Regions from separate parts of the Homo sapiens genome. Here all the other regions are linked to region 4. Evidence: promoter capture Hi-C in 16 types of primary human blood cells and fetal thymus (Javierre and others, 2016). All regions are on one chromosome and are shown on one strand. The core of a region is centred on a gene start or on the middle of the fragment in contact, and the rest is flanking DNA. Distances in the headings are between cores, read along the strand shown. Region 1 has its middle 53 kb from the start of ARL4C. Region 2 has its middle 14 kb from the start of ARL4C. Region 3 has its middle 34 kb from the start of ARL4C. Region 4 holds the start of TRPM8 (transient receptor potential cation channel subfamily M member 8).

The links. Contacts are between HindIII fragments. The CHiCAGO score rates a contact against its expected background, and 5 or more counts as called.
Region 1: a fragment that was not itself captured here is called in contact with the fragment with the promoter of TRPM8 in region 4 in 5 of 17 cell types (total CD8 T cells, activated CD4 T cells, non-activated CD4 T cells and 2 more); the score reaches 8.1 in total CD8 T cells.
Region 2: a contact is called between a fragment that was not itself captured here and the fragment with the promoter of TRPM8 in region 4, in 7 of 17 cell types (activated CD4 T cells, naive CD4 T cells, non-activated CD4 T cells and 4 more). The highest score is 7.5, in activated CD4 T cells.
Region 3: a fragment that was not itself captured here is called in contact with the fragment with the promoter of TRPM8 in region 4 in 6 of 17 cell types (total CD4 T cells, total CD8 T cells, non-activated CD4 T cells and 3 more); the score reaches 11.6 in total CD4 T cells.

What each region holds. Positions count from the first base shown.
Region 1 is chr2:234,549,187-234,551,886 of GRCh38, forward strand. No RefSeq gene overlaps it. Among named protein-coding and RNA genes, the nearest start is that of ARL4C, 53 kb to the left of the region's middle. The HindIII fragment of the contact is 1,047 bases long and covers 925-1,971 here.
Region 2 is chr2:234,509,702-234,512,401 of GRCh38, forward strand. No RefSeq gene overlaps it. Among named protein-coding and RNA genes, the nearest start is that of ARL4C, 14 kb to the left of the region's middle. The HindIII fragment of the contact is 3,740 bases long and covers 1-2,700 here.
Region 3 is chr2:234,529,316-234,532,015 of GRCh38, forward strand. No RefSeq gene overlaps it. Among named protein-coding and RNA genes, the nearest start is that of ARL4C, 34 kb to the left of the region's middle. The HindIII fragment of the contact is 6,369 bases long and covers 1-2,700 here.
Region 4 is chr2:233,915,930-233,918,629 of GRCh38, forward strand. It overlaps TRPM8 (transient receptor potential cation channel subfamily M member 8), which reads left to right and starts at 1,444. Exons shown (of 26, transcript NM_024080.5): 1 at 1,444-1,503. The HindIII fragment of the contact is 1,520 bases long and covers 1,423-2,700 here.

The DNA of each region.
Region 1 (2,700 bases), core at 198-2,697, 630 kb after region 4:
GGAATCCTAGCAACCCAAACAGCTGGCTGCTGTACTGGCTTCTTGGCCGGTCCCCTCTCATACTCCAATATAGAGATGCAGACAGTGAGTCAATGAGTTCCCATCACTGATAAGTCACATGGTTTGGGTTTGCCTCGTTTTGTGTCTTGCAAACAAAAGCATTCTGATGGATTTGGCTGAGGTCAGTCCGCCCTCTCTCAGGGTTGCTATGGAAGGAATCTCTCCATCAGGAGGTGTGTGGACGAGGACCTCTGAGATCTCTGGCTCAACTCTAAGATTCTATTACTCCTTCGTATGATTCAAAGTTGCGTAGGTTCTTCTTCTTTCAGGTGCAGGTGGAAAACATTTAAAGACACAGAGTTTTTAAATTGTTTTATATTTTAGATTCAGGGGTTACACGTGCAGGTTTGTTTCAAGGATATATCATGTGATGCTGATGTTTGGACTTCTATTGATTCCATCACCCACATAGTGAGGGTAGTACCCAGTAGAAAGTCTTCAGCCCTTTCTCCCCACTCCCTCCCTTTCTCCCTCCTTCTCTCCTTTTGGAGTCCCCAGTGCCTATTGTTCTCATCTTTATATTTGCGTGTACCAAGGTTTAGCACCCACTTGTAAGTGAGATGTGACATTTGCCTTTTTGTTTCTGCATTACTTCATTTAGAATGATGGCCTGCAGCCACATCTATGTTGCTGCAAAGGACATAATTTCACTCTTTTTTATGGCTCCATAGTATTCCATGGTGTACATGTATGACATTTTCTTATTCAGTCCACCATTGATGGACATCTAGGTTGATTCCATGAAGAGAGACACAATCTTAATTATTTTGTCATCACAGACGTCACTAAGACAAAAAGAGGGAACATTTAACGTAAGTTCTACAACCTAATGACACCGACAGGAATTCGATCCTGGTTTTGGAAAGCTTAAATTAGACACACACACGTGCTCAGGCACACACAAAGCAGAATTCTTTGTCTAACTTAGACCCCAACTTCAGAGGGTAAGTTCAAGTTCACATCTTGAAAATTTAAATGGCTCTATTAAGACATTCTTCCCATATCCTTGGGTTTAAAATGCAGTGAGTCAACCAGCCAAACTAATTTCGTACTCAACTCTCATATACTTGAACGAATTATGGCTATTTTTAACAGGATTATGAAGATTATCAAAATCACTTGAGAGAGTAAGAAATCCTGTTGGAAGGAAGTATAATACCCTTGCAAAGATAAGTATAATTAGTGTGGAAAAGGGCGATGAAAAATTAATAGAGTTTTAAGGTCAAAGATACATGCAGATGTGTAAAATCCTCAAATTAGTTCTTGTAAGACTCTGTCCTAACAAATTCCGCGATCAGAACATTCTCCGAAGTTTTTCTGCATTCTTCAGACTCTCCAAGAGTGGAAGGTGCCAACTGCATCCCTAGCCAGGGCAGGAGAACAAAGAGAGGAACCCACATCGTGACCACAACCATCTCAGCCCCGAACGACGCTGCTCTCATAGCGAAGGTGTTCAGTTTCACCACTAGAGGGAGCGCAGAGCCCACAGCATCATCATAAGGTTAGGGAGAAAGAAGAAATTGGGTCCAGAAACTTCCTTCGGCATCCCCCACCCACCACAGATAAACGTTACAGCGATCTCATGGGAGAATTGAGAATGCACACAGGTCAAACGATCTTGTGGTAGACCACAGGCTGGGTAAGTTCATTTGCAAGTCCTTGCTGTCTGCTAGCCTCCAGCGCGTGCCTTACAGACACTTTTGATGGATAATCACACCTTTCTCACAAGGGTTCCGTGAGTCACTATTTTGCAGAAGAAGCAACTGAGGCCCAGAGAGTAACTTGTTCGAGTTGATAAAGCAAGTAAGTCTTCCGGACTCCAAAGATGGTGCCTGTAACAGTGTTCCCAGGAAGCACCCAGGACTCAGGACGCTCTTTGAAGATCACAATTGTATGATCTCACTGAAAACAAGCTTCTGCCCCTGAAGTCATGTTTTGACATCCTAGCTGTTCCTGGGAACTCATCCACAACGTCCCATTAAAAGTGGCCATGACATTACAGAAAGAAAACAGAAAAGAAGGAGAGAGTGAGAGAGAAATTCACAAGAGTGCCCCTACCACCAGGAACCTAAAAAACAGAGAGAAAATCCACAGGCCAAGAGGAAATCCACTGGGCTGCTAGTGGAGTTTGACAGAGAAGCACAAGTCATCATCGGATATCCTGTTTCTAATATGAATGGTAAAGGCCTCAATTTATTTATTTAATTTAATTTAATTTTTTGAGACGGAGTTTCACTCTTGTTGCCCAGGCTGGAGTGCAATGGTGTGATCTCGGCTCACTGCAACCTCCGCCTCCCTGGTTCAAGTGATTCTCCTGCCTCAGCCTCCCAAGAAGCTAGGATTACAGGCACGCACTACCACACCCAGCTAATTTTTGTATTTGTAGTAGTGACAGGGTTTCACCATGTTGCCCAGGATGGTCTGGAACTCCTGACTTCAGGTGATTCCCCCGCCTCGGCCTTCCCAAAGTGCTGGGATTACAGGCCTGAGCCACCGCGCCCAGCCAATTTATTTTTACAAAAGAATATTTCTATAACAAATAAGAAAAAATGGAATTATAACAACACTGTTGGTTTATAGCATCGAATGAACAAAAATCGGGGTATAAAGGAGGGGATGGCAGTTCTTTCCATGGATAAG
Region 2 (2,700 bases), core at 16-2,515, 590 kb after region 4:
CTCCTCATCTCTCTCTCCCTGTCTCTCTCTGTCTCCCTCTCTCTTTCGCTGTCTCTTTTAGATTTGTGTGGCCCTCTAGCTATTGTCCTACAGTTTTACTCCTTCCCTTCTCAGAGGGTCTCTGCTTCTCTCACAATGCAACTTTCTGTCTGCTCATATCTGTCATGCCCTTCCCCACTCTCTGAACCTGTGCTGGCAAAGGTCACCTCCTAATTGCTGCACAAACTGGACCTATTTTAGTCCTAATCATACTTATTGCCTCAGTTGCATCTGGTGCTGTTAACCACATTCTTTTTTCACAAAACTCTCTCTGACTTGCCTTTCTTTGGCTTTCATTGTAGTCCTTGCTCCTAGCTCTCTTGTATATTTTGAGGTTCTCTCACAAAGTCCTTTTCTTCCATTTAACCCTGAACTGTGAGTGTTTTCTGAGCCCTCTGCTTGGCTCTTGTTCCACACCACACCTGCCTTCAAGGGACAGTTTTTTTGCTCCAGTGAATTCTTCTCCTCCTCCACAAGGAGGAGGTTTTTGTTGTGAGAAAATACACATAACATAAAATTTACCATCTTAACCAGTTTTAAATGTACAGTTCAGTGGTATTAAATATATTCAGAATATTGAGCAAACATCACCACCATTCACCCTCATAACTCTTTTCATCTTGTAAAACTGAAACTACCCATTAATAATAATGTTTCATTATTTCCCCCTCCTCTCAGCCCCTGGAAATCACCATTCTACTTTCTGTCTTTATGATTTTGACTACACTAAGTACCTCATATAAATGGAATCATACAGTGTTTGTCTTTTTTCGACTGGCTTATTCCACTTCGCATAATGTCCTCAAATCTCATCCATGTTGTAGCATGTGTCAGAATATCTTCCCTTTTTAAAGCTAAATAATTTCCCGTTTTACATATGTGCCACATTTTGTTTACTCATTCATCTGTCAACAGATACTTGAGTTGCTTTCACCTTTTGGCAATTGTGAATAATGTTGCTATGAACATGAGTGTACAGATATCCCTTCAAAACCCTGCTTCCAATTCTTTTGGGTATATATCTGGAAATGAGATTGCTCAGTCATGTTGTATTTTTGTGTTTAAGTTTTGTAGGAACTGCCATGCTGTTTTCCATACCAGCTGCACCATTACAATCCCACCAGAAGTGCACAAATTTCCAATTTCTCTGCATGATCACCAGTATTTGTTATGTTCTTTTTTTTTTTTTTTTTTTGAGACGGAGTCTCACTGTCACCCAGGCTGGAGTGCAGTGGCGCAATCTTGGCTCACTGCAAGCTCTGCCTCCCGGGTTCACATCATTCTCCTGCCTCAGCCTCCTGAGTAGCTGGGACTACAGGCACCCGCTACCATGCCCGGCTAATTTTTTGTATTTTTAGTAGAGACGGGGTTTCACTGTGTTAGCCAGGATGGTCTCAATCTCCTGACCTTGTGATCCACCAATCTCGGCCTCCCAAAGTGCTGGGGTTACAGGCATGAGCCACCACACCTGGCCTGTCCTTTTTTTTTTTTTTTTTTTAATTCTAGCCATCCTGATGAGTGTGAGATGGTGTCTCGTTGTGGTTTTGATTTGCATTTCACTAGTGGTCAGTGATGTTGAACATCTCTTCATGCACTCATTGGCCATTTGGATGTTTTCTTTGGAGAAATCTCTATTCAAGTCCCTTGTCCCTTTTTAAACTTGGTTGTTTTTGGTGTTGTTGTTGAGTTTCCAGTGGATTCTTCTTCCCAGATATTTGCTTCTACTGTGCCTTGAACTATGTCCAAATCCCTGTTCAGTTTCCACTGGGTTGTCCCATGGACACCCCTAGACCATTCCAACTAATCTCACCATTGCCCCTACTGAGTCACTCTTCCTCCCCCATTCCTCTTCTTACCTCCTTCACTACCATTGACTCATTCTCACAGCCAGAACCCAGCAGAGAAGTGGGAGGCTGGTGAAGCCCTGCCACACGCCTTTTGATAGAATATCTAAGGACACAGCCTCCAGCTTTAGGAGAGAATAAGCCCATTTCTCTGCATTTGGTTGGGAATGAGCTTGATGGTCTCATCTGGGCCCATAGGTGGTGGGAGCCCTGCTGCCTCTTGGGCCAAGGAGACCACTCAGTAACTTTCCATGTCCTCTCCCCCCAGACAGCATCAAGGATGTCTGGCTGAGGTGAAGGATTCAGCCAGGTATGGCTGGACACTATGGGACCTTGGCCTTTAAGGTGGGTGTGGTAAGGGGAGTTTGGAGAAAATCCTGGCCCATCAGAAGTCCCCACTTTCTACCTACAATACCTGTAATAATAACTTCAATAAATAATAAAGTTAATAATAACTTTAACCCACAATACCTATAATAATAACTTCAATTTAAGGGTGCTATAGAATGACTAATTGTAATGTAATTTGAATGTGAACATTACAAAATTGGAAGTTAGTTGTTAACTAGAACATCACAGTTTATGGTAATGCACAAAATCAACTCCAAGTTGCCTAAATGATGGTAGAGAAGAATATTTCCAAAATATAAAACCTAGGTAGGGGACAAAGATGGAACCCACAAAACATTACCTGTAATGCTCAGTAATAATTGTCCACTGCACAGAGGACAGAGGAGATGAACAGGGCCACCCCCCTGGGCTGAAGGGAAGATGTGACTCCCTGAGCTAGGATGGCCAGTGTGAAGCAGGGAGCAGA
Region 3 (2,700 bases), core at 159-2,658, 610 kb after region 4:
CAAGGGGCTAGGAGCTCACACTGAGACCAAGTTCACAGTGCATCATCATTGGCCAGTGGATGTTGTCACTGGAAGCACTGCCACTGGAACCTGGAGGCCACCAACCAGACTGGATTCTATTGCCGCCTCCTGGATTTTAGTGCCATTTGTTTCTGGTGCCTGAATTCCAGTTTCCAAGCCCTATGCCCCGGCACAGGCTGCCTCTGTCCAGAGGAAGGGGCACCTTTGCTCATTTGCAGGGAAGCCTGGGACTGGATATCTAGTTGACCAAGCCCAGGTCACCCTGCCAAAGTGCCAGAGTGTGAGCAGAGCCAGCATCCAGATATGTGGGGTTCTGCAATAAGAGGTTGGTGCTATCTCCCACCAGACCTCCTGCTGTGGGAATTCCCCAAAGGAAGAGAGTCAGCAGCCAGATTTCCAAAAAATGTTAAATGTCCTCTGCAGCAGGAGGACAGAGTGCAGAGGGAAGGGCCACAGGTGAGAGGGGGAACTGGATTAGGAAGCAGATCATCCTCTTGAACTTCATGAGCAATGTGACCAATACAATAGGCCCTGAAATAACCACAACAAATGGTGACTTTGAAATGGACAAAGAGATGCTGTAGCAAGTATCATCCTCTCCTCATGTGTCACTGGTCATACAAATGGTTCTGGGCAAAGAGGGCAGCCTGCCAAACTGTTGCAGACTTTTCCAACGGCCTGATTAGAATGATTCCTCAGGGGCTGTCTGTTCAAGAACTGACCCCTCTCTAGGGCCTGCAGGGAAGGATCTTGGAACCTAGAGCTGCAAGCAGCAACTCTGGAGGCTGCACTCTGTGTGTGTGGACAGAGTGGCCATGAAGGAAGGTACTGTCACTTCCACGCCTCAAAGGGCATTGACCTTAAATTTAGGAAATCTATTCCTATGTGTGTGTCTCTACATAAAGCAAAGGCACACAAAGCACTCAGAGGTTAAGCCATCACAGCTAGGATAGAATCATGAAAGGGACATCACCAATGGGCTGGTTTCCCTGGGGCTGACCCTTCTGTCTGGAGCCTTCCAGGGTCTCGCCTGTAGACCCTAGTCCTTAATGCCAGGAAGGACCTGCAGAACCAGAGACAAGAGGTTTGGGTTATGCATCATGCATGGAGCTTGCAGGTTGATTGCACTGCCTAAAGAACAGCATGTTTCATGGGTTTAAATAAATCTATTCAGTAAACCAAAAATAAAATTATAAGCCCCCCAACCATCTGAATCGACCCCTCCTCTCAGCTGAGGCATTCCAAAGTTAACCTGAAAAACTAGTTCAGGTCATGATGGGAAGGAAAAGTTGGACATGCCTTATTATTCCCTCCTCCCTTCTGCAATGCAGACACAACTGACCAGCATTAACATTAAAACAGACCTTAATTAAGACTGACAGAATAGACTCTTTAAGTCTGATAAGAAACATTTGCAATCTCTTCTCTCTGAAGCCTGTTACCTGGAGGCTTCTTTATCTGCATAAGAAAACCTTGGTCTCCACAACCACTTATCATAACTCAGACATTTCTTTCTATTGATTCCAGATCTTTAGATAATAACTCAACCAACTGCCAATCAGAAAATCTTTGAATCCACCAATGACCTGGAAGCCCCTGCTTCCAGCTGTCCCACCTTTCTGGACGGAACCAAGGTACATCTTAAATGTATTGATTGATGTCTTGTGTCTTCCTAAAATGTATAAAACCAAGCTGAAGCCCAACCATCTTGGGCACATGTTCTCAGGACCTCTCAAGGGCTGTGTCACAGGCCATTAATCACTGATATTTGGCTCAAATAAATCTCTTCAAACATTTTACAGAGTTTGACTCTTTTCATCAACAGTACTACCATGTGAATAATTTAATTATAATTTTTTGCATTAAAAGCATTAATTTGTTCCATGTAGGATTTTAGAATATACTACAAATATTGTAATCCTCTTTTGGCATTTTCATCATTTTTCTATATTCTGGAGCTCCAACACTGGAAGTGCTCTGGGTCCATCTGGGCTTCAAGGGGCCCAGCTTGGGTGGGGAGGGCAAGTGGGTCAAAACTTAGCCTTCTCCACAGTTTTCTGGGTCCCTGACACTTGTGGACATCATGGGCCTGCAGGGTTCCCTGGAATTCTGGGCACAAGGCCAGCGGGTTTCAGAAGCCTGCAGCAACCCCAGCACCACTCTTAGGTTCTGGGTATATATGAAAGAGTCCTTGAAGAGAGGGACAAGGGCATTTCTTCAAGTAACTGGAACTTTCTAGGACTTCTTCCTCAGAGGGTTACAGACTAGAAGAGCTGGGATGGGGAAAGAAAGATGTTTTGAAAATGCCCAGCCAAGTCGTGGGCATAAGCAGTGCCTCCCCACTGGGAGGACCAGCCCTCTGCCCTTACCGTGCACCCTCCCATTCTTGCACGTATGGACTCCTGTGCTTTTTCCAGGAGTGGGTTTGGCTTGATCCTCTCCCCTCCTCTCCTGGAACTGCTGAACCAGACAGGCTTCAGTCCTGCAGGCCTCAACCCAAACTCCTACATCACATTGTTTTATATCTGGCACACACCAAAGGGGTTAGAGGAGTCTGATGAGCAATTAGTAGCCCAGGGTTCACGTACAGTTGCTAGCTCTTATGTGTTAGCACCTGTGATTTCAAGGCTATTCAAGAAAACAACGCATTTCAAATGTAAACCAGTACAGCCTCTATGG
Region 4 (2,700 bases), core at 194-2,693:
CAGGCACGTGCCACCACACCTGGCTAATTTTTGTATTTTTAGTAGAGACAGGGTTTTGCCATGTTGCCCAGGCTGGTCTTGAACCCCTGACATCAAGCAATCGGCCCGCCTCAGCCTCCCAAAGTGCTGGGATTACAGGCATGAGCCACTGCACCCAGCTGGCTCAATATTTCTAACAGCTAAAAAGCTCATTTTGCTGCTCCGCTCCTCAGATGGACTTGCTCCCCTGTGCAGTGCTATATATGTGCTTGGGGACCATGCTGGGTATGGGAGTTTTTAGTCCTAGGACCCATATTTAGAGTAATTCTGAGATTTCTCTGATTCTCTCTCTCTATTTCTAGCTGGATCTCTTCTCTCACGGGTCCTCATTCAAATCTATCATTTCCAGTTTTCCACAGCCCCCACCCTTCCCTACTTACTACCTAACACTTGGCTGCTCCCTTCATCTTTATGACCTGTCTGAGCCTTGGAATATTTGAGTTTGAGACCTCTGTCTGGAGTCTTTTGTCTCTCTTTGTTAAGGGGGTTTTCTTCTTGAATTGAACATGCTTTCTGCAGGAGTTATCACTACAACCCTATCCTTCCTTTCAGACCTTGCTCAAATCTCTCTGCCTTTGCAAAAAACCCCTTCACACTCCTTCTCTTTCATCTCTAACCTTTTTGCAAGTGTATGTCTTGTGCAATCAGTTCCTGAAATACACTATCCTATTTGTATTTCTCTATGACATATGCTTCATATGAAAATAAAATAGAAATAATGGCCAAAACAGAGGAACATTAGTTATAATATAACTGTTATGTTTGTGGCACGTGATTTAAGTAAAATGACCGAAAGTTGCCCACTGACAATTGTTACTTATTTCTTCGAGGAGAGCTCTTCCAAAGTGTAGTTTAAAGGGGACAGGAAATAGCTGTAAATTAATGAAGCTGGATTTGCTCACCTCCATGATGCCCTCTTGCCTGGCCCAATACTGCATTTAGTTGGTATGAGGAAAGTTCACAAAATCTGCAAAAAAGCAATGTTGGTTAAATTTCCTCTATTTAATAATTTTTTTCCTAATCTTAATTAAGAGCTTTTAATTTATTAATTAATCTTGTCATCACTTTCTATAATGAGCATTTCCCATTTTATTTGTGGTTTTTAAAATGTGCCATTAATTGCAGAAATTAAGTATTAGTATGATTTCATACTATGGTGTTATTGTCAAGCTAAGAGCAGGAATTTGGTATCATTTCTTTATTAGCATTTAAAATACCATGTTCACTAATTATCCATTCCCTACTCGTATTCCACTGCTAAATTGCTGCTATGCTTGGAGGCTTTAGGAGTCTTCTTGCAATTTCAGCGGCTTAAGTTTTTTGTTCCTCTGCTTAAAAGAACCTCAGAGAAGAAGGCGGGGCTAAGAAGATTCCAGTTATAAAAGCTTTCCTCCTCCTGTGGGGAGAGACCAGCAGGATCCTTGGGTGAAAGAAAATCCTGCTTGACAAAAACCGTCACTTAGGGTATGTCATCAACTTTTGCTTTTTGCTTCTCCTTAAATGTTGCCATTGCTGTAACTTGTAGAATAGTACGAGTTTGTGTCTCTGGGAGGGGCATCATTTAGTTTTTCTATGAAGATTTGAAACTAAAGGAAGACAAAAATTTAAATTCCTCAAAGTGTTGTGGGCATAAGCAAATGCGGGTTCACAGATATATCTAATCCTCACTTAGATTTATTTAGAAATGTAGAATTATTTGCTGAATTTTTGAATGACTTTAAATATAATTACAGTTTTCTGTTTCTGATTGAAGGAGTTAGAAACTCCCTAAATGAGCTTTAATGAAAAATTCACTGGCATCTGAACTCTGCAACTGACTATCTGAAGCAATCCTATTGGGAACATAATAAAACAAGTTTTTTCTTGAATCAAGACTATGGTGAAATGTAAATTAACATCAAGAAATAATGCATTCAAATAGTAAATATTCTTTGATAATGAAAGGAGCGGGTATATTTAGCTTGTTTTTACATACTGTGTTTCCTTCCGTTCTTCCAGCCTGTTGAAACAGGCTCATCATTTGTATTATTTATAAGCAAGAGAGAAACACTGAAGGGCTGGATGAATAATTAAAGGTTTTATTTCCATTTAATTTTCAATCCATTATTGCCAGTGCTGACTTTTTCAGTGTTAGGATTCTTGAGCTGAACATAAGGAAATGGTTATTCCTTAAGACTATTCTATATGTGCTAATACAAAGATACTGATCATGAGAGAAGTTTTAGCTTGTCAAAATCTTGACAGTGCAAAGGACTTACTTCCAAGGTTGTGACTTTGGATGCATATTTATTTATAATTTGGAAAAAAGCTGTTTATTATTATTTATTAATAAGATATTTATAATTATATTACAAATAATATAATTGTTATAGAAATAATATAATTACATTATAAATTATAATTACATTACAATTTATAATAATAATTATCACTATCTTTGTTTTGCCTAAGAACTGATATCATTCTTGGCACCTGTGAAGACAGTAGGGGTCCAGGCTGCATAGGGACCCCTGCTTTTCCTCTTATTCTAAGAGGGTCTCAGCAAATAGCATCTTGGAGCATCACCTGCTGCCTGTATCTACCTCCTGTTTCTCACTTCTACTTTTTGGAGCAGGATACCTTGGGGTCAATGACTTCGGGAGCCTCCACTGGCTTTTGCTA